7 separate regions of the Homo sapiens genome follow, and all the other regions are linked to region 3. Evidence: promoter capture Hi-C in 16 types of primary human blood cells and fetal thymus (Javierre and others, 2016). All regions are on one chromosome and are shown on one strand. The core of a region is centred on a gene start or on the middle of the fragment in contact, and the rest is flanking DNA. Distances in the headings are between cores, read along the strand shown.

Evidence for each region. Contacts are between HindIII fragments. The CHiCAGO score rates a contact against its expected background, and 5 or more counts as called.
Region 1: a fragment that was not itself captured here is called in contact with the fragment with the promoter of ADAMTS6 in region 3 in 16 of 17 cell types (M0 macrophages, megakaryocytes, non-activated CD4 T cells and 13 more); the score reaches 22.0 in M0 macrophages.
Region 2: a fragment that was not itself captured here is called in contact with the fragment with the promoter of ADAMTS6 in region 3 in 3 of 17 cell types (M0 macrophages, activated CD4 T cells and naive CD8 T cells); the score reaches 8.7 in M0 macrophages.
Region 4: a contact is called between a fragment that was not itself captured here and the fragment with the promoter of ADAMTS6 in region 3, in 13 of 17 cell types (erythroblasts, total CD8 T cells, naive CD8 T cells and 10 more). The highest score is 10.9, in erythroblasts.
Region 5: a fragment that was not itself captured here is called in contact with the fragment with the promoter of ADAMTS6 in region 3 in 16 of 17 cell types (M0 macrophages, M1 macrophages, M2 macrophages and 13 more); the score reaches 40.4 in M0 macrophages.
Region 6: a contact is called between a fragment that was not itself captured here and the fragment with the promoter of ADAMTS6 in region 3, in 1 of 17 cell types (fetal thymus). The highest score is 5.4, in fetal thymus.
Region 7: a contact is called between a fragment that was not itself captured here and the fragment with the promoter of ADAMTS6 in region 3, in 16 of 17 cell types (M0 macrophages, M2 macrophages, megakaryocytes and 13 more). The highest score is 23.3, in M0 macrophages.

Annotation. Positions count from the first base shown.
Region 1 is chr5:64,826,594-64,829,293 of GRCh38, reverse strand. The region is part of intron 10 of CWC27 (CWC27 spliceosome associated cyclophilin); the gene reads right to left. Among named protein-coding and RNA genes, the nearest start is that of CWC27, 59 kb to the right of the region's middle. The HindIII fragment of the contact is 1,329 bases long and covers 615-1,943 here.
Region 2 is chr5:64,860,452-64,863,151 of GRCh38, reverse strand. The region is part of intron 10 of CWC27 (CWC27 spliceosome associated cyclophilin); the gene reads right to left. Among named protein-coding and RNA genes, the nearest start is that of CWC27, 93 kb to the right of the region's middle. The HindIII fragment of the contact is 2,872 bases long and covers 1-2,700 here.
Region 3 is chr5:65,480,575-65,483,338 of GRCh38, reverse strand. It overlaps ADAMTS6 (ADAM metallopeptidase with thrombospondin type 1 motif 6), which reads left to right and starts at 1,419. Exons shown (of 25, transcript NM_197941.4): 1 at 1,419-1,996. RefSeq lists enhancers at 1,217-1,266, 1,040-1,539, 1,307-1,666. The HindIII fragment of the contact is 619 bases long and covers 992-1,610 here.
Region 4 is chr5:64,844,154-64,846,853 of GRCh38, reverse strand. The region is part of intron 10 of CWC27 (CWC27 spliceosome associated cyclophilin); the gene reads right to left. Among named protein-coding and RNA genes, the nearest start is that of CWC27, 77 kb to the right of the region's middle. The HindIII fragment of the contact is 357 bases long and covers 1,134-1,490 here.
Region 5 is chr5:64,806,287-64,809,054 of GRCh38, reverse strand. The region is part of intron 10 of CWC27 (CWC27 spliceosome associated cyclophilin); the gene reads right to left. Among named protein-coding and RNA genes, the nearest start is that of CWC27, 39 kb to the right of the region's middle. The HindIII fragment of the contact is 3,254 bases long and covers 1-2,768 here.
Region 6 is chr5:66,147,477-66,150,301 of GRCh38, reverse strand. The region is part of intron 1 of SREK1 (splicing regulatory glutamic acid and lysine rich protein 1); the gene reads right to left. Among named protein-coding and RNA genes, the nearest start is that of SREK1, 4.6 kb to the right of the region's middle. The HindIII fragment of the contact is 2,439 bases long and covers 111-2,549 here.
Region 7 is chr5:64,788,851-64,791,770 of GRCh38, reverse strand. It overlaps CWC27 (CWC27 spliceosome associated cyclophilin), which reads right to left. Exons shown (of 14, transcript NM_005869.4): 7 at 2,751-2,820. Among named protein-coding and RNA genes, the nearest start is that of CWC27, 21 kb to the right of the region's middle. The HindIII fragment of the contact is 3,301 bases long and covers 1-2,920 here.

The DNA.
Region 1 (2,700 bases), core at 30-2,529, 650 kb after region 3:
CAGTACTGACATTAAGCCATTAATTCTAAAATTGGAAATTGACTGAATTTCCTGGACCTAACAAATAATCTCACAAGAAAAAGAATAAAACACATGAGTCATAAAAGGTAGAAGTTAGGCTTGTTTTTAGAAAATTCAAATCATGAAAAATCATTTTATAAGAAATGACATTAGCAATCTAACTATCCTGTTATAATACAATCTGGTTCAAATAAATACAGAAATTTTAAAAATCACATTTTCATTTTGTACATTGATATTATCATTTGCATGATCACAGATTCAACATTCACTCATTCCATTAAATAAATGGTTGAATATTTACCATATACCTCATACCACAGATGGCTGTGATCAGCTTCTCTAGGTGGCTTCCTGCCCTTTTGCTTGCATGTACTCTTTTGATTAACTATTTTATGGGTAGAGGGAAATAATGTGAATATAGTAACTGTTTCTGAATTTGATGTGTTGTTGTAAACTGGTGAGTGGCCTGGGAACTTTCAGAGGATAGTACAGGTAAAACTAAGCCAGATTTACATTCAGACTCAGATGACCTAGGTTGTCAATAACAAAATAATCTTGAACAAGTCACTTATCTTCTATTCATAAAAGCTTTATCTGTAAAATAAGGAAACTGGGTACTATTCTCTGAATGTTTACAATCTGTCTTGGGCCTCTTTTATAAGGGCATTAATCCTACTTATAAAAGAGGCCCAAGAGAGGTCTCAAGCCCCCTCTGCCATTTGAGGATGCAGCAAAAGACAGCTGCCTATGAACAAGGAAGTGAGCACTCACTAGACATTAAATCTGCCAGTGCCTGAATCTTGGACTTCCCAGCCTCCAGAACTGTGAGAAAAAAAAAATTCAGTTATTTATAAGCCAGCCGGACTATGGTATTTTGTTATAGGAGTCCAAACGGACTAAGACACTGGGAGACAGTTAATATGGTTCTTTCAACTTTAAACTTCCATAATTCTATTTAGGTGCTGTAAACATTTGGCATAGGAAGATTAAGTGGGACAGAGGATTAAGTACTACTTAATAGGAAAACAATGGTAGTATAAATGACTCATCCTAGCTACTTTAAAAATGCCTAATACATTTTTCTTAAATTAAAAATGTCACATAGTAAAATGAACGCATTCAGAAAGAATCACCTGAAAAATTCTGAAAATTATTAGAGAATACATAGTCCCCCTGCCTTATCCAAGAGGGATACATTCCAAGACTCCCAGTGGATAAAACTGCGGAAAGCACGCATAGTATAAAACCCCATATATACTATGTTTCTCAATTTGATACCAAGATGGCTACTACTAAGTGACTACCAGGCAGCTAGCATATAAAGCATGGATACATTGCACAAAGGAACGATTCTTATCTTGGGCAGCACAAAGCAGGATGGTGTAAGATTTCATCACACTACTCAGAACAGCATGCAATTTAAAACTTATGAATTATATATTTCTGGAATTTTCCATTTAATATTTCTGGACTGTGGGCAATCAAAACTATGGAAAGCAAAACCATGGATATAGGTCGACTACTGTGTCCTCAATAAGTATGTAGTATCTTGAAAACAGAAAAAGAGAATATGATATAATATAATTTAAATAGCTACAATTTATTAAATGCCTACTAATTCATATTAGCATTACAACAATCTGGTAAAATAGCTGTTTTTATTTCTGTTTTAAAATAAGGAAACTGAGGATCAGAGATTAAATAAGTCAGGCAAAGATACTAAGTTAAAAAGTGGTACAGCTGGTATTCCAACCTGGATGTGTTTAACTCCAAAGCAATACTCCTTCCTCTATAAAAATGTAGTATTCCTGATTCCTACAAACAAGTCCTTTTTTTATAGTCAAGTTTCAATTGCTAATGGTAATGGGAAAAGAAACAACATGGAAAAATAAAACTCATGCAAACGTGGTATAAAAGCTTATGACATGGGATAAATTCCAGTACGATGAGTTCTGAGGCTAGGTAAGATACTGGGTCAGATGGTTCTAGGTACCTTCCAAATCTCAAATGTGAATAATATTCTCAATTCATTGAAACTTAAACAGATTATCTACTCCATTTTCCTACTCATTAGAGAAGTTTACAATTTTGTGTTAAATGAATTGTAAATTAAATACAAATATCAAGTATGTTATTTAGAGGATTGGGGGAATCTTCTAAGGAAAGGATGCGAAGACCTGCTATGTTAACTTTCTATTTTCTTTCAATGCGCTTGTTTAAAAGAAAAACACATTGAAAATTCAAAAGGCAATTTTAACCTAGGTTACTACAATTTGCTTAAAAGTGGGAAAAAATTGTTCCAGAGAAGAATATGCTGATTTGCTTTTTCATTTCCATTTACTTTTTCTTTTCTTAGGGTGAGACAACAAAATTGCCACACACATATACACACAATGCTCTGAAGAAAATTAAGGAGGACACGTCCAAGAAAATTTACCAACTAAAAATTTATCTTGGATAATGAAAAGGAAACTAAGATTTCTAAGTATTATACAGGATAAAACTGAAAGCAGAAGACATGAAACTAACAGTTGTATTACATTGTGATATTAGCAAAAAAAAAAAACAAAAAAACACCAAAGTTAAAAATTACTACTAACTTATTAACCAAAATAATTAGTGAACTATAAAGTCAGAACTTACTACTTGTCATTTAGTTTCTCAAGAATGCAATCC
Region 2 (2,700 bases), core at 92-2,591, 620 kb after region 3:
AGTCATTCTATACAGGACAACTAGCCCAACTTTATCAAGTCAAAGGTATGAGAAAAATTAAAAGGGTAGGAGATACTGAATATTTTTGTCCTTCCCATATTCATATGTTGAAACTTAATTCCCAGTGTGATGGTATTTGGAGGTGGGGACTTTGGAAGGTGAGTAGGTCCTGAGGGTGAAGCCCTCACAAATGGGTTTAATGCTCTTATAAAAAATCCCAGAAAGGTTTCTTATCCTGTCCACCACATGAGGACACAATGAGAAGATGGCCATCTATGAACCAGGAAATAGGCCCTCACGAGACACCAAATCTGCTAATGCCTTGATCTTGGACTTCTCAGCCTCAAGAACTGAGAGAAAGAAATTTCTCTTTTCTTGTTTATAAGCCACCCAGTTGATGGTATTTTGTTAAAGTAGCTTGAATGGTCTAAAGCAAAACTCAAGAGACTAAAAAAAATTCAACATGTAAACCTTGACTGGATCTGGACATATACAGACAAGCTATAAAAAACATTTTGCAAACACCTGGGAAAATTTGAATATGGGCTGGGTATTAGATGATTATTAGGGAATTATTAATTCATTACATATATGAATTTTAGTATGGTTATATAAGTTTTTCCATTTTAAGGTATTCATATTCATATTTTTAGTGGTAAAACATGACTTCTGTAATTTATTTCTGTGTTGAAGTATTTTAATGCAAATACAGCAAACTATCAATCATTGTTTAATCCAAGTGATAAGTATATGAGTGTTTTCTTCTAGGGTTTTGTTTGTTTTTGAGGAAGGGTATATTATATTTACTTCCTGATATGCCTAAATTATTTTTAATAAGATAAAAGATTATTTGCGCTGGCCATAGTAGCATGGAGTCCATAAATATGCAGTGTGGCTGTGTCAGCAACTGCAGAGGCAGATTCCTAGTAGTTACATTGTCAGGTAGGCAGTGCCTTGCATCCTGACTCAGCCTGGCTCTTTGGCCTTCCCGTACATTCCGTGGGTTTGCTGATATCATTTTGATATATTCATTTGTGACTTAAATTAGCAGAAAGGATTCTGTTATATGGCACCAACAACATGAAGCAATATACTATTTACATAAACCTACTTGATATCTAGCGCTCTGTGCTCTGCACACAAAACTTTCCCCTAAAATGGATTTTTAAATCCTCATACCAAGATGCACAGGATAAATACATGTATCTATGTAACATTAGAAGAATGACATTGTATTAAAATCGTTATCATATTTAGTCTTTAAATAGCATGATATTGAACATTTCTTTGGAAAGTAATGAGAATGATAGTTTAGTAACCTATATTCCTATAGCAATGCAACTATTACATGGAAGTATAATGTAAGGCAGCACAATGGCAGTTGAGACCTGGTATTATGTTGCTGTTAATGGAAGCACATAGAAGGACCTCAGTTCTAGGATATCCATTAGAAACAGTACTTACTCAAGTCTCTTCATTGTTTTAACTTTATTCATATATTAAAGGTTAATGTGGCAAAATGTAACAATTCACATAAATAGAAAAAGCATATATAAAAATGTCCTTGATTTTTAAATCAATCACTAAGTACAGAGTACCTGATATGAACACAGAAGTGTGCTAAGCATGTTTAGTCAACTGTTTTGGTACATTGGTGGTTTCCAGTGAACCATCACTTACACATAAGTATAAGTGTACAAGTGATTCATACCCTTGTATAGTCTCTTCCCACATTGACTCTAGGCCTGACCATGAGATACCTGCTAAGAAAAAACATAACTCTATAATAGAGAAGATTGGTTTTATATATATATATATCTGATTTGGCCACACAAAAAAATTCTGATGCAAGAAGAGGCTTGATCCTTATTAGTATGGTGGTGAGTGAAAAAAAAAAATAAGAAGAGGCTTGATAACTGCTAGGACATTAGAGTTGATACTTTAGGAATATGTCTTCTTAGAAACCGAGACCACCATGTTGTGAAAAAACCAAAGGTAGCACATGGAAAAGCCACACATGGAGAACTAAGCATTTGGTCCAACAGGCAGAGTCAAGGCTTGAGACATATGACCCTACGGGTTGAAACATCCACGGAGTATTCTAGGCAGCTCCTAACCATTTGAGGAGCCCCAACTAAGGTCCCAGATATTGCAGAACATTATGAACCATCCAATTTGTACCTTATCCAAATCTCTGACCTAAAAAAATTATGAGCTGCTTGTTTTAGTTACTGAGTTTGAGGTCATTTTTACACAGCAATAGATAACTGAAACGGGATTATACTATAATGTATAGTTATTTGTATGATGATAACATACCAAGAGCACTCACAGTTTATCAACTAATTATATATTTTGATGAAATTCATTAATATTTCAAACTCTGCAGATAAAGAGTTGGACCAAAGTACTTAAAGTTATGAAGAAATACAAGTGTTTACAGTATAACTTTAAAACACAGTTATATATGCAAAATACTCATTCAAAAATTTTATAAGAAATTTTAAGCCAGAAAGACTGATGTTATATCAACAGCATTAAAAAGTAGAGCTGATCCTAATGAGTTACTTATGTTGACTAGGTACCCATCATAAAACATGGTCAAAACAGCCAAAAGTAAAACTGAAAATCTAACCAGAAAATCTGGAGTCTGACCTGGCATTTCAGCTTTATCCTGATATCTATCACACAATGGTGGTA
Region 3 (2,764 bases), core at 170-2,669:
TACTACCTCCGGCGTAGGAAGAAAAAAAAAAATCAAATGGGCAATAATGTTAGCAGAAGCTTGATATTTAAGAGCTGGTATTCAGAAAGATCATCCTTCCTACCCCCTTCCCTCCGGTCCAGTTCTCCTTTCTGGTTCTCACCATCGGAAATTGACTTGGCATTAACTAAGGGCTGGAATTTCAAGGCGTCAATTTTCCCCTGCCCCCAACCTCGGAAACTCTTAAACAGCTCCCTATTCTACACTCAATGGTAGAGACAGATAAATGATGCAGCAGATTACACCGTTGAAAGGCAACATTTGTCCTGAGCTATTTTCACATTTTTTCCTGTTTCCGATGTATGTGCCAGACTTTGTTTGCTTGCTTAGGACATGGAAAACACTGGGCATTTTCTCCCCAGCGGCTTTCATTCTCAGCAAATGAAAGTGAAAGTGCTACATTGTAGCGGTATTTTATCCTTAAAGTCTGGACTGGCAGCTTGTGTGTAGGGGGGAGGGAGGGTGGGATTGGGAAGGTTGAAGAACCAGTTTTGAGGTTTTGTTTGTTTATCTTGAGATCGCAGCAGGGTTCCTGTTTTTTTCCCTTCCTTTTTTTTTTTGGTGGTGGGGTCCTACTTCGGATTTATTTTCATTTGGGCAGTCATTGAAGTTTCATTCAATGGACTGACTTAAAAAAATACACTCCACTTGTGGCTTTTCCCGGTTGCACTTTAAAACACCATCCAGTCTCACCCTCATCTGGAAATAATGCAAGCTTCTCTCTTCCTTCCCCCGCTCCCTCCTCCCCTACTTTTTTTTTTTCTTCTTCTTCTTCTTTTAAAGCTCCACATAACCTGAAGTCGATAATCAAATGGAAAATGTGCTGGTATTAGTTTACTTTAGTTTACTTTCCCTTTTGGTGCTAACCTTACTTGCTGAAGTATGTATAAAACACAGGCATTTTGTACACTTGTAGCTACTGAGTCTTGTGCCTGCTGCACGAATCTAAGCTTTAAGTTTCCTCAGAGGCACTGTTTGCGTGCAAGTTTTAACATTTTGATTGTGTGGATTTTAAAAATAAAATTACACGGAGAATGACACCAGAGATCTTAACAGTGACATTAGTCCATCTAAAGTCATTCATCCTTCTCCCTCCCCCTTCATTTTTCCAAGAAACAACTAATAGCAAACCAGGCTAGAATTTCTAAGAGAGTTTAGAGGAGGAGGAGGAAAAGAGGCGGAATGAGATAGGACAGAGAGGTTAGAGAGGCCAGAATTTCTCTCATTCACAGTGTGGAAAAGTTGACATTGTCTAAGCCCTTCTGAATGGCTGGTAGTTGGTTACCCCGATTGTACCTCTACCTCCCCTCCCCCTCCACGTGACGACCCAGGACACATGCGCACCCGACGCAGCCCAGGCACATCTGCAGACTGACGTCAGTGTGCTCTGCCTCCGAGGAAAAGCTGCCAAAATTTTCTCCTGCTGCAATTCAAGTTGGCTGGGGGCCGGTAGTGAGATCTAGGGCTACTTCAACAAAACTTTGCTGCCCTTCCTGCTCCTCTTGTCTTCTTTTCTCCTGATACCTTTTGATGCTCTGCACATGTTATTTGCATAGCAAAGGCACTAAGCTTTCCAGGAAGAGAGGGCACCACTTCCACCCCCAATAAGTCTTTTTTCCCGTCTTTTCTTTCTTTTCCTTTCCTTTTTTGGGGGGTGGGGAGGGAGAGAAAGGGGGTTTGCAAAGGCAGCATCTCAGAGTGATAGCCTAGATGTATTGAAGGCATCTCTTATTCTGCCAAATCGGAAAGTCAGTTCTCTAAAGCCCGGGTTAGCCAGACCATAGGGTTTTATTCTGGCTGCAGAATAACTGGCTGGTGTGGCTTTGCAAAGGGGGGCAAAAAATAAAAAAATAAAAAAAATTAAAAAAAGTTAGAGAGGAGAGGGAGTACGTGAGTCGTCCAGTGCAATCTCTATTGTCTGAAACTTACTTTTTATCAGAATTTGAAGATGAAAACGGTAAGGAAGACTTAACAATATTCAATGGAGCTTTTTTTTTTTAAACCAACAACTTGTGCTTTGCTTGTCTTCCGAATAACGCTTAGAAAACTTTTTTTCTGTGTGTGTGTTTTTTTTTTTTTTTTTAATGGCAATGAGTGAGCTTGACTGAACTCATTTTACAAATAGATATCTTTTTAACTCCAGACTTGTCGGGGGTTGTAGAATTCTGGGACTTGCAGTTATTTTATGATGCAAAAAAAATACGTTTATTTTATGAATATACAATACATGTTTTGTGAAGTGGACTTGATTATGATTATTGTAATCTTTTAACTGATCACCAAATAGTAATCCGGAAGGTAATAATGATGTGTGTGTTTTAAATTGATTTCCAGTTTTCTTACAGAAAAGTCTTATGCATTTTGTAGTTTCATGTCAGTGTCGTTAAGTCTTCAGACAAGTGCATATTTTATGCCTGGGCTCAGAGGGTAGCATTAATGTGCTAGCTGTAGCCCCGATGCTCTAGGACATGTTAAGCTCTTAATAGGCTAATCAAAGAGATGGAAACGTGTGTTTTTGATTTACTTTTGGCCACTTGGGACGTGCTAGACTCATAACCCTCCGGAGCCTTGTTTATCGGGGTAGGTCTGTATATATGGTGTATGGGACCAAAGTTCAGGGATTGAGGAGGGAGAGTGAGAGTGCAGGAATGGGGTATTGGGAAGCCTCTTTCTGATAATATGTGCTACAATTCCTGTCTTTGATGCTTTCTTTCCCTGTACTAGA
Region 4 (2,700 bases), core at 63-2,562, 640 kb after region 3:
CTCAGCTAATTTTTGTATTTTTAGTAGAGATAGGGTCTCACCATATTGGCCAGGCTGGTCTCAAACTCCTGACCTCAAGTGATCCGCCTGCCTCGGCCTCCCAAAGTGCTGGGATTACAAGCATGAGCCACTGTGCCCGGCCTATTGCCATTTTCTTAGTTTTTTTCTGGATGTTTGGTAAATAATTTTTTTTGTCTTCCTCCCTTGCTGTCTTCCTTTGTGATTTGATGGTTTTCTATAGTGGTATGCTTTGAATCCTTTCTATTTTTGCTTTATATTTCCACTAAAGATTTTTGCTTTGTGATTACCATGAGGTTTACACAGAACATCTTATAAACAATCAAGTATAAACTGATAACAGCTTATAAACAATCAAGTATAAGCTGATAACAACTTAACTTTGCATACAACAATTAACTTTGCATACAACAATTCTATACTTTTTCATACCCCCTCAACATTATGTTTTTAATGGCAGAATTTACATCATTTTTAATGTGTATACCTTGATAATTTATTTTAGCTATAGCTGCTATTAATATTTTTGTTTTTTGACTCATGTACTAGGGATGAAATTGCCTTATGCACCATTATTACAGTCCTACAGTTTTCTGAATATGGCACTATTTTACATATACCATTGAGTTTTGCAATTCATATGTTTCATGAAACTGAGGGAGAAAGTATTATTTCCTTCTCAATTATGAAAGATAGCTTTGCTGGGTTAAGTATTCTTGATTGGTAGTTTTTGTGTTTGTTTTCCTCCGGCATTTCAATTATATTATGCCACTCTCTCCTGGCCTACTGGGTTTCTGCTGGGAAATCTGCTGATAGTCATATTGTCTCCTTTGTATGTGATGTGTTTATTATCTCTTGCTGTTCTCAAAATGTTTTGTCTTTGATTTTTGACAGCTAGATTATTGTATGCCTTGGTGTACTCCTCTGTGTGTTGAATTTGATTGAAATTTCTGTGCTTCTTGTACCTGGATATTCACATCTATTCCCAGATTAGGGGATTTTTCAGTCATTCTTTCCTTAAATAGGCTTTGTGACCCTTTTTCTCTTTCTTCTTTTGCAAATCCTAGTATGCAAAGGTTTGAACTCTTGATGGTGTCTCATAAGTCCCATAAGCTTTCTTCATTCTTTTTCACTCTTTTGTCTTTCTGGTCCTCTAACTGGATAATATCAAATGCTGTCTTCCAGCTCATTGATTCTTTCTTCTGCTCTATCAAATCCACCAATGATGCTTTCTATTGAATTTTTCAGTTCAGTCATTGTATTCCTCAACTCTAGAATTTATATGTGTTTCTTTTATATTGTTTCTATTTCTGTCAAACTTGTTATTTTTGTTAGGTATCAGTTTCCAAATTTTATTACATTTTCTATCCATATATTCTTGTACATCACTGAACATCTTTATGAGTAGTATTCTAAATTCTTCCTCAGTCATTCCAAATATCTCCGTTTCTTTGGGGTCCATTACTGAAGCTTTATTAGTTTCTTTTGGGATTTCTTTTGTTCTTTGTAGTTCTTGTGTCCTTGTGTTATTGTCTATGCATTTGAGGAGAAAGCCCCCTCTTCTAGCCTTTACAATAGGTGTTCTTTGGCATGGATAGAGGTTCACTATTTAGTTTAGCCTGGGAAGGGCCAGCTGGTGATGATCCCAGGGAGTCAGAGCTTGTTGGGAGTTCTCTAATTTGCTGGGCAGATGCCTTTCCTCTGATGTTACATGGGGCTGCTGGATAGACTCCACTGTCTGGTGAGATCAGTGGCTGGGCTCTGCTATTAGGCAGAGTTAATGGCTAGAAACTGTGATGGCTTCTCATCAGGCCAGTTGCAAGTTGTATTCCCTGGATGGGCAATTCTGCTATTTGAGATCTGCAGTTGGGCCGGGCTGTAGGCTGGGCTCCAAGGTTAGGCAGAGTAATTTCCTGGGAGAGGAGAAATACCAGAAGCTGTACCCCTTAGAAATGCACAATTGAGGATTACCTCCCTATCAGGGTAGAGCCATGGGATTGCTTTGTGGCAGAGTTGAGTGGCTGTTTGACTGCCTGGGTCAAACAGGTCTAGGCTCTATGCTTCTCTAAGATGCGTGAAAGTGGAAATCTCCCTGCCTATGCAAAGTCACTGGAATGGCTTATTGGCTGAATGGAGCCACTGCTTGAGCACCCATGTCAAGTCAGTCTAGACCATTTAATTCTCTGAAATTCATAAAGGTGGAGAGTCTCTCTGCCTGGGTGGGGTTGTAAAGCAGGTTTTTTGGCTGAGGGTGAGGGGAGCTGCTGCTTGACTTCTCAAGTCAAACTGGTATAGACCCTTCACTTCTCCAAAATGGGAGGAAGTGGGCATCCCCCTGCATATGCAGGTCACAGAGGTGGGCTCTGAGGCTGGGTGGGAAACTAGCAGCCTAAGGACTCAAGCTAGGATGAACTTCCCATCTTCCTTCTCAAGGCAACTAGCTTAGCTTTGGGGGTCAACTATGAGGTTGGCTGGTATCTGTGACCAGGCATCACAGCTGTCAGGAACACAGAGGTACTGTCAAGATCCATGCACTGGTCAATATGACCTCTGCCTCCTTTATTTCTACCCGACTCCAGGCAGTCTAGCCATGCTGATTGCTTCGGAGTGGGTTTCATAAGAAGCATATCAGAATGCTAGGTATGCTGGATGACTGCATCCAATTCCCTTCCCCCCTGTTGA
Region 5 (2,768 bases), core at 71-2,570, 670 kb after region 3:
TTTGTTTCTTGATCTGGGTGATGGGTATATGGATATATTTAGTTTGTAAAAATTCAGCTAGCTGTATACTTATGTGCACTATGAAATATAGTTAATAGACACATTGTTTGTATATTATACTTAAATTAAAAGTTTAAAAGTTAAAGAAGGATCTTCCCAGACTTTACCTCAGACCAGACAATTCTGAATCTGTGGGTGAGGGGCCTACGAATTAGTATTTTTCAAAGCCTCCTCCGTGAGCCTAATGTGCGGTTAGGAGTGAAAACCACTCCTATAATGGAACATAATTAATTAAATATTTTATTTATCCACTCATTCCACAAAGTTTAATGACCAGTTACTATATGCTTAAGATATTAGCCGCCTCTGAGGATATAAAGATAAATAAGACATAGTCTCTAAAGAGCTTAGTTTAGGCAGAGGAGAGGCGAATCAATAAATCCCTATTGAAAATACAAGCAAGCTACTTACAAGATCCAGAGGAGAAAGTGATTTGCCAAAGAAGAATTTATTCATTTTTTGTTCATGTATTTACAAAAATATTTGGGTACCTACGCTGTTTGAACATGGAGATACAAATGTAAATGGATATGATCACTACCTTCAAGAAAGTTACAGTATAAGGATACACAAAGAAGAAAAAATGTATATGTAACCTAATATTACAGGAGTGTGAAAAGGGTGCACATAGGTTTGCACTAAGGAGTCAGGGAATATAGTACCAACTTGCTGACAACTTGCTGACCTTGGAACTAACATGATACAAACTTGAACTCATCCAGGAGCAGTAGGGATAAAAATTAATATTCTACAGGACTGCTTCTCAAACTAATGCACACAAAAATCACCTGGGGATCTTGTTAGAATGCAGATTCTAATTAAAAATGTGTAGGACAGGGCCTGAGACTCGGTATTTCTAACAAGTTCCCAAGTGATACTAATGCTACTGCTTCACAGATCACACTTTAAATAGTAAGGTTCTTGAGAGAGATTAGTCTCAAGAGAAAAGAGACAAAAATCTCCAGAGCAGGAAGACCAAGAAAAAAAAATGGAAAGTAGCCAGTCGATTATCAACTAGATGGCCTTAGTGGAAGTAGTTTCAGTGGAGTGGTAGGTGAGAAGCTAGATGATATGTATTTAGAAATAAATAGGAAGGAGGTAGGGACAGGAAATAAAATGGAATGGTTTTGTTAGTTTTTACTCTCGAAGCGGGGAAGAGAAAGAAATACGGGTTGAAGAAATTTACTCTCATTTCATAAAAAAACAAGCAGCCAGGTGATCCGTTGAGTGAGTTTGAAGTGTGAAGTAAACATTGTGGCGAGTGAGTAATAAGGAAGCACTGGAGACACAGCTGAGGCTGGAATCTAGAAATCCATAATAATACCAGCTTGTATATGCCTGTGTGATTCTGCTGAGCTGTATCCAGTAGTCAAGATACAGGCATAGAGAAGGTGGGCTGGAAAGAAAGTGGGATTGGTACATTTTAAAAAGGGAAGAGACAAGGGATTAGAAATCCTAGGAAGTCAGAATAGATATAAGGGTGCCGATTCTCTAAGGAGAGAAACTAGGAAGCGTTTTGGATTTGTATTTCCCCTGAGCTCTTTTTTCAAATGAACAACTAGAGACATTGTTGAGAACACATTACTAGGAGAAGATCCTACTATATGTAAACTTGTTGAAAATTATTCTGTTAAATATCATTCCCCAGTTTAAATATTAAGCACTCAATAAATACATGTGTAGGTTTAACATCCAAAAGTGATAACCAGCTTTAACAGATTCCAGATGTTTCCTTACCAATAGAAGCAATACCACACGTTTTCAGTAAAATTATACTTTGAACGGCTCATTGCTTAAAGGGCTGGTGGGCTAGTCTAGTTTCTGATCCTACTGCTTAAATGGAAGAATGACCAAAGGATAATAGAGTACTTCAAGCACACCCTGATGAAAACTCATGTATCAAGAGTACACATTTTTGAATAGATAATGATATCACACTGACATCCTATCTGGCTGGCAGCTATACCCATTATAACTCAAACTGAGCAGTGACTTTCCTTTAAATATAATTATCCCTTTTACCACGTTGTAGTTTTTCAGTACATTTGGAGCTTTCCTGTGTTGTTTTATTTTTTAACCATAAAGTTAACTTCAGAGACTCGCTGGTATAAATAACCAAAAGTACTAATGATTTGGAAATTTATTAAAATTTATTTTTATTTTTTTAGAGACAGGGTCTTGCTCTGTTGCCCATACAGGATCATAGCTCACTGCAGCCTAGAGCTCCTAGGCTCAAGCAATCCTCCCACCTCAGCCTGCTGAGCAGCTGGGATTACAGGCATGAGCCACCATGCCAGGGTCTGATTTTGGCAACTTTATGAACTGAAAAAAATACGTGGTCATGAGACAATCATGGAAATTTCTACACTAGAGGAAAAAACTGTTTCTTCCTTTTGAAATTCTGTACTTTCTCCTCTATCCTGACCTTATTTTTCTTTTGTTTCTCTTTGTAGGTAGGACAGATAGGATGAAGGAGGGAGAGTAGAGAATGTGAATAATGAAAATGTGGGGGAACAGAACAGTTATAAATAAATGTGTGCTGTCTGCACCATTTACAAAGGCACACTTTGCCAATTATTTTACCTAAAAGAATCCAACAATGTCCACAATACTCATGTTTACCTAAAATATTCAAGCCACCTTTGGAGACTTCTTATTTAATTTACTTTTCTAAGTAGAAAAGTATTTAACGTACTTTTTAAATTTAT
Region 6 (2,825 bases), core at 81-2,580, 670 kb before region 3:
CAATCATTAGGTACAGCCTCCTACATGTGCTACCAAGACATTCTATATTGCTTTGGCACAGGCCTTAGCACGGTTTCCTCATGTGAAACCCTCAAAAGATCCTATAAGCTTCTCTAGCCATAAATGATTAGTCACCAGTCTCAAGGGCCCATTTCCCTGGCTGACCAGCAACCTCTAATTTTGGAAGTCAGGCTCGACCAAATGAGCTAGATCAATCAATCAGGTTCTCTCTATTGGGCTGGAAGGTGACTTACAGCAAGCTGTAAGCCAGATGATGAGTACATAATAGGTATGCAAAGAAATGGAGTAGATAGAAACAAACTGAACTGATAATAACCACTGCAGAGAAAGAAGCAGATAGTCATCTTGATTGCTGATACCCTTCTGGTTCCCAGTACTAGTTCCCATGAGGCCTGGCTGTACTACAATCTTTATTTTTCAACGCAGTGAAATCTTTCTTTTTAATAATAATGTCTCTTCTCGATGTACCTTGGGTAACACTGTTTCTGTCCTTTTTAACCAAAAACAATCTGTGATTATAATAACCTACTAAAGCCCTAGCAATTCCAACAGGAATAACTCTTTTGCCTCTGAAATCTTCAAGAGCCTGACAGTCATCTCTGAAGCAACATTTCCTAAACTGACGGATCCTTTTGTGAAGGAATGTAAATGTTAAGTAAGCACTACTGAAAACTAAAACCACATTTCCAAATACCCCTAGTTGAAATCTACTTCATTTCAAACTTAAAACATCCACAGGAATAGGAATTCTGAGTCTGGTTTGTAATGCAACTACATCTGAAGACATGCCACCAACATTTCAGAAGCCTGGGAACTGGTTAAAAAAATGTTGGTCTGTTCTGAACAGCATCATCATGGAAGTATGGATATTAGGTACGGCTACTCCACTGATTTAAGCAATTTTCTTTTCTTTTCTTTTCCTTTTTTTTTTGAGACAGAGTTTCACACTGTCACCCGAGCTGGAGTGCAATGGCGGGATCCCGGCTCACTGCAACCTCCGCCTCCCGGGTTCATGCGATTCTCCTGCCGCCTCCCAAGTAGCTGGGATAACAGGTGCACACCACCACACCCAGCTAATTTTTTGTATTTTTAGTAGAAACAAGATTTCACTATGTTGGCCAGACAGGTCTCGAACTCCTGACCTCGTGATCCGCCTGCCTCGGCTTCCCAAAGCGCTGGGATTACAGGCGTGGGCCACTGCACCCGGCCAATTTTCTTAATCTTCATTTCCAATTACCTTCCTTAAAATAAAGACCAACTTACATTTACTTTATAAAAATGCAAATATTTGAAAATTTCAGGCAAGGTAACACTATTTTATTTTGACCATTATAAACTAAAATTATTAGAGTAGCAAGCCAACAAACAGATAGCTCATCAAACAAATGTGTACTTGCTTGTGCCCAAGAGTTCAAGACCAGCCTGGGCAACAGAAGAAGACCTTGGGGGAAAAAAAAACACATAAAAAGGGATGACATATTCCATTTGGTCTAAATGTATGCATCTATAGAAACTAGCAGGCCAGGCACAGTGGCTCACATCTGTCACCCCAGCACTTTAGGATGCCAAAGCAGGCGGACTGCTTAAGCCCAGGAGTTTGAGTCCAGCCTGCGCAACATGGTGAAATCCTGTCTCTACTTAACTAAATAAATAAATAAAATTTTAGAAATAAATTTTAAGAAGAAAATAGCAGTACCCAAATTTAGCAGATTTTAGTTTGACCTCATTCGTTGACTTAAAGTTTTGGTTTTTTAAAATACAAAATCTTATCAATTTTTCAAAAAAAATTAAAACTTTTCAGTGGGTAGTACACGCAGAAACCAAAGAACCAACTTTTTGGGCATCAATTAAATTTCTTGGCCCTAACTGGTTATTTTGTCTTTTATTAAACATAATGATAGCACTATACAATATTTTTAAAACCAATGAGGTAATAATATGTCCAGTATTTTATCAGTACATTAATACACATCCTTTAGAGGACAGAGGACCTACCAAAAAAGATATGCCAAAACATGAGCGAAGCATACAGTATCATGTACAAAAATATTAGTTGGTGCATTATTTATAACAGGGTTTCTTCACTGGGCTTCAGTGGCCCTATGGATTAGCACAATTCATCCTGTTTAAGACTACTTATAAGTTGCTAACATTTACCCACTAAATGCCAACAGGCCCTCTAATCATTGTTGACAATCAAAAAGACACACCTCCCAATTTCTAGCTAAAATCCACTAATTTGTAATACCAAAAAAAGCAATCAAAATATCCAACAATAGAATTTCAAAAACACACAATACACTCAGAAATTACTAATCTCTAAATATTACTATAAATAAGACAGCAATATGGAAAATGCTTATGACAAAGTGAAAAAAGTAAAATAACAGTGTGATTCCTTTGATTACGCTATATTACATATATTACATAATGATAGCACTATACAATTATTTTTAAAACCAATGAGGTAATATGTCCAATATTTATTAACGCATGTGAAAAGGACTACAGGGAAATGGAGAGAAGCTTTGATAGAGTGGTGGGATCACAAGTGCTGTTTCCTTTTCTCTATTTTCTATAAAGTGGCTTTAGTGGTTACATTTTTTTTAACTAAATAAACTTAAGTAGTTGACAGATTTTTCCATTCTTTCTTAGAACTTTAGAAGACCAGAGAAGTGACGGAAATCAACAAGCAAAAAAAATCAACACAGGAAAAATGTCTAGTGTTACAAATCAGGGTAGGCTTACCCTTCAGGTTTTAGTTACTTGAAGGGGGTCACGGGGAACTTACAGGGTGCAGATAA
Region 7 (2,920 bases), core at 114-2,613, 690 kb after region 3:
AAGATAGTGAGTTAAGACTTCCCCAGGGCTTGATAAACTAATGTCCAATAAGCAGCTGGAGAAAAGAAGAGTAAACCAGCCTAGAGATATAGACGTGAGAGTCAGATACAAGCATTTGATGATAACTTAATTACAAAGCACCCCCTACGAAAGAGCCAGATGAGAAAACTATGATGACACAATACTAGGATAATAATATTCATTTGATAATGAACGGTATTTGGGTTGTAATTTTCTTGGCAGAGAGAAAAGATTTTACTCAGTCCTTCTAAAAGTATTTAAAGTGTTTTTCAGGTTTAAGAAAGAAAAAAAAAAAGACAGCACTATCTGTGCTGCTATCCTTGTACATTTCAATCTGAAACGCAAATTGCTTTTGGAGTATAAGTTCACAATATTCAGTATAATGTAAACATACCATTTTTCTATTTTGTACAGTAGAAAGCAGCAGAAGGAAGATAATCTTTGAACATTTAACACATGCTGCTGTTACAAATAGAAAAAATTCAAACTAATTTCCTAGTCAAGTCTATCTCAAAGCAATTGTGAACAAAACTTACTTTAGACTAGAAATTTAACTTCAACAAAAAACTGACAGAAAAACTTTCTCCTGCCCTTGCTCTCCAAGGCTGCTCAACCTAACTATCCAGGACCCTGTGGGATTTAGGGAAGGACAACGGGCCAACTGCCTTCCCCAGCTGCCTTCTACCCCAGAATGCTACGCTACCAGTGAAATTTCTCACCAACCTTTGAGACGTCTTGGGCTTGAAGGAGACAGCTTCTACAGCATTCATAATCATATGAGAGACTTAACTAGCTAAAAAAACCCTCAGTTCAAAATTCTGATTCTACCACCTCTTAATTGCATGATCATGGATGAGTTATTTAACCCTCTCTGAGTTTCACTTTCTTTATTCTACAAAATAAGAAAAATAATATCTATATTGCATGGTTGTTATAGGGATTACATAAAATAAATAGTATAGTTAGCAGATAAGAAGATAAATTATTGTAATGCAGTAGGATAAATGTTTTGATGGGCATAGACAGATTATCATGGAAAGAAGTACCTAGCTTAGCCTGGATGGGAGTTCAGTGGCAGGGGGAGGTAGAAGTAGTAGAAGGTGATAGTAGACCTAAATCTTAAAGGAAAAACACTTTAAGGAGAGAGCATACTCCTGGCAAAAGGAAAAACAGGGGTGGGGGAACTGTGAGGAAAGTATGGGTATGCAAGGAAACTTGACATCTTTAGAAAACATCAATGAAAAGGAACCCTGGCAATTTCTAGATCTAACATTCATGGTTTTGTCCATTCACAAACATAACCACAGAATCATGACACATAGTAAATCATTTTGATGAGGCATAAATTTGAATCATAAACAATGCAAGACTAGTGCACTGACATCTAAAGAAGATGACTCTTCAGATATTGAGGTGACAGAGTGATTGGTGACGTTAAGGAATTGGGAAATGAAGTTTTTGTAAAAAAATGAATTTAGTTTTGACATCTAGAGACCTTTCCTAAAGCAACTCTGAACAAGGGATAAGAGCCCAGGAGAAATATTTGGCCTTATCTCCTAGAGTTTAGAATGTTGGTGTACAGGTAAATGGAAATTGAATCCATGGCATCAAATACATCACTCAAGGATACAATAAAAAGCAACAAAAAGTTATGACCAAAATATTTCATATACACACCATTTTAATTACATTTTAATGCAAGGGGTATTAAGTAGAGTGCTTACTAGGCGTCCAACATTAGCCTGCAAAACCGTGCTCACTAATAAGGGAACATATGGCTAAAGAAGTAAAAACAAGAATAATAATAATATGCTTTTAATTCAATGTTATTGTTAGAGTTGGTAAGAAATAGATAATTATGTTAAGCAAGTAAGGCTTATAGGTTATAAAGTTTTAATTACAACAATAAAGACTATAAACCTAATCCTTTAGTTCTCAGTATTCACTAATTTTCAAAAAAGAAAGGCATATCAGAACCTTTAGGAGTAGAAACCCTTGAAGACAGTTTTCTTGTAGTATACACACCAGAATTACTGCTCTAAACAATGGCATGACACCGTGTTTCAGTAATGCGTATTATGATGCAAGCAATATTGAAGAAAACCACATGTAAAGGCCTACAGGAAGGACTAGCAGAATAAAAAGGCCAGGAGGCACTGCATAATTCAAGGACATGGATTTAATAGTTACAAAGACCTGCGTTCAGTTCCCATCTGTAGCTACTTATTGGTTATGTTACTTTGAGCAAATTATAAACTATAGCTGAATGTATTCATGAGTAAAATGAGGATGATAATAATATCACCCATCTCAAAGGGCTGTAATGAGAATTAATGAAATAAACAAAATATATATAAATAACATTAAAATGAATATAAGAGTTTTGGTCTGTGACTGTTTATATCAGTAATGATAATAATCATTATCATCTAACATACTACCTGAAAAAATAGCAGTTAGGATCTGAATCATAAAGTCCAACCATTCAAAAAACTGCAAGTCTAGTTCAAACTGATTTTTTTAAAATGCCAACATTAAAAATAAATAGGATAATCTCAAAAGTTGCAAATATTACTGACCACAAATCAATTTACAAATTCAATGAACACTTACTGAGCCTGCCCCATGTAAAACATGCTGTGCCAGATATAGCAGGAGATACAATAGTGAGTAAGATATAGACCCCAATCTCTTTTGTAAGTTAGAACAAAGGGCAAATTAGAGATTACCTGACTAACTCGATTTACTTCCTCCTCTTCTTCCTCAGCTTCCTCTCCAAATGAAAGTAAACTAAAATTTCTAGTCCAAAAAAAAGAAAGAAAAAAAAAAAGAAAGAGAAAGTCAAATCAAACTTATAAATACCTTATTTTCAGAGCAAGAGAACAGAATTTACAAGAAG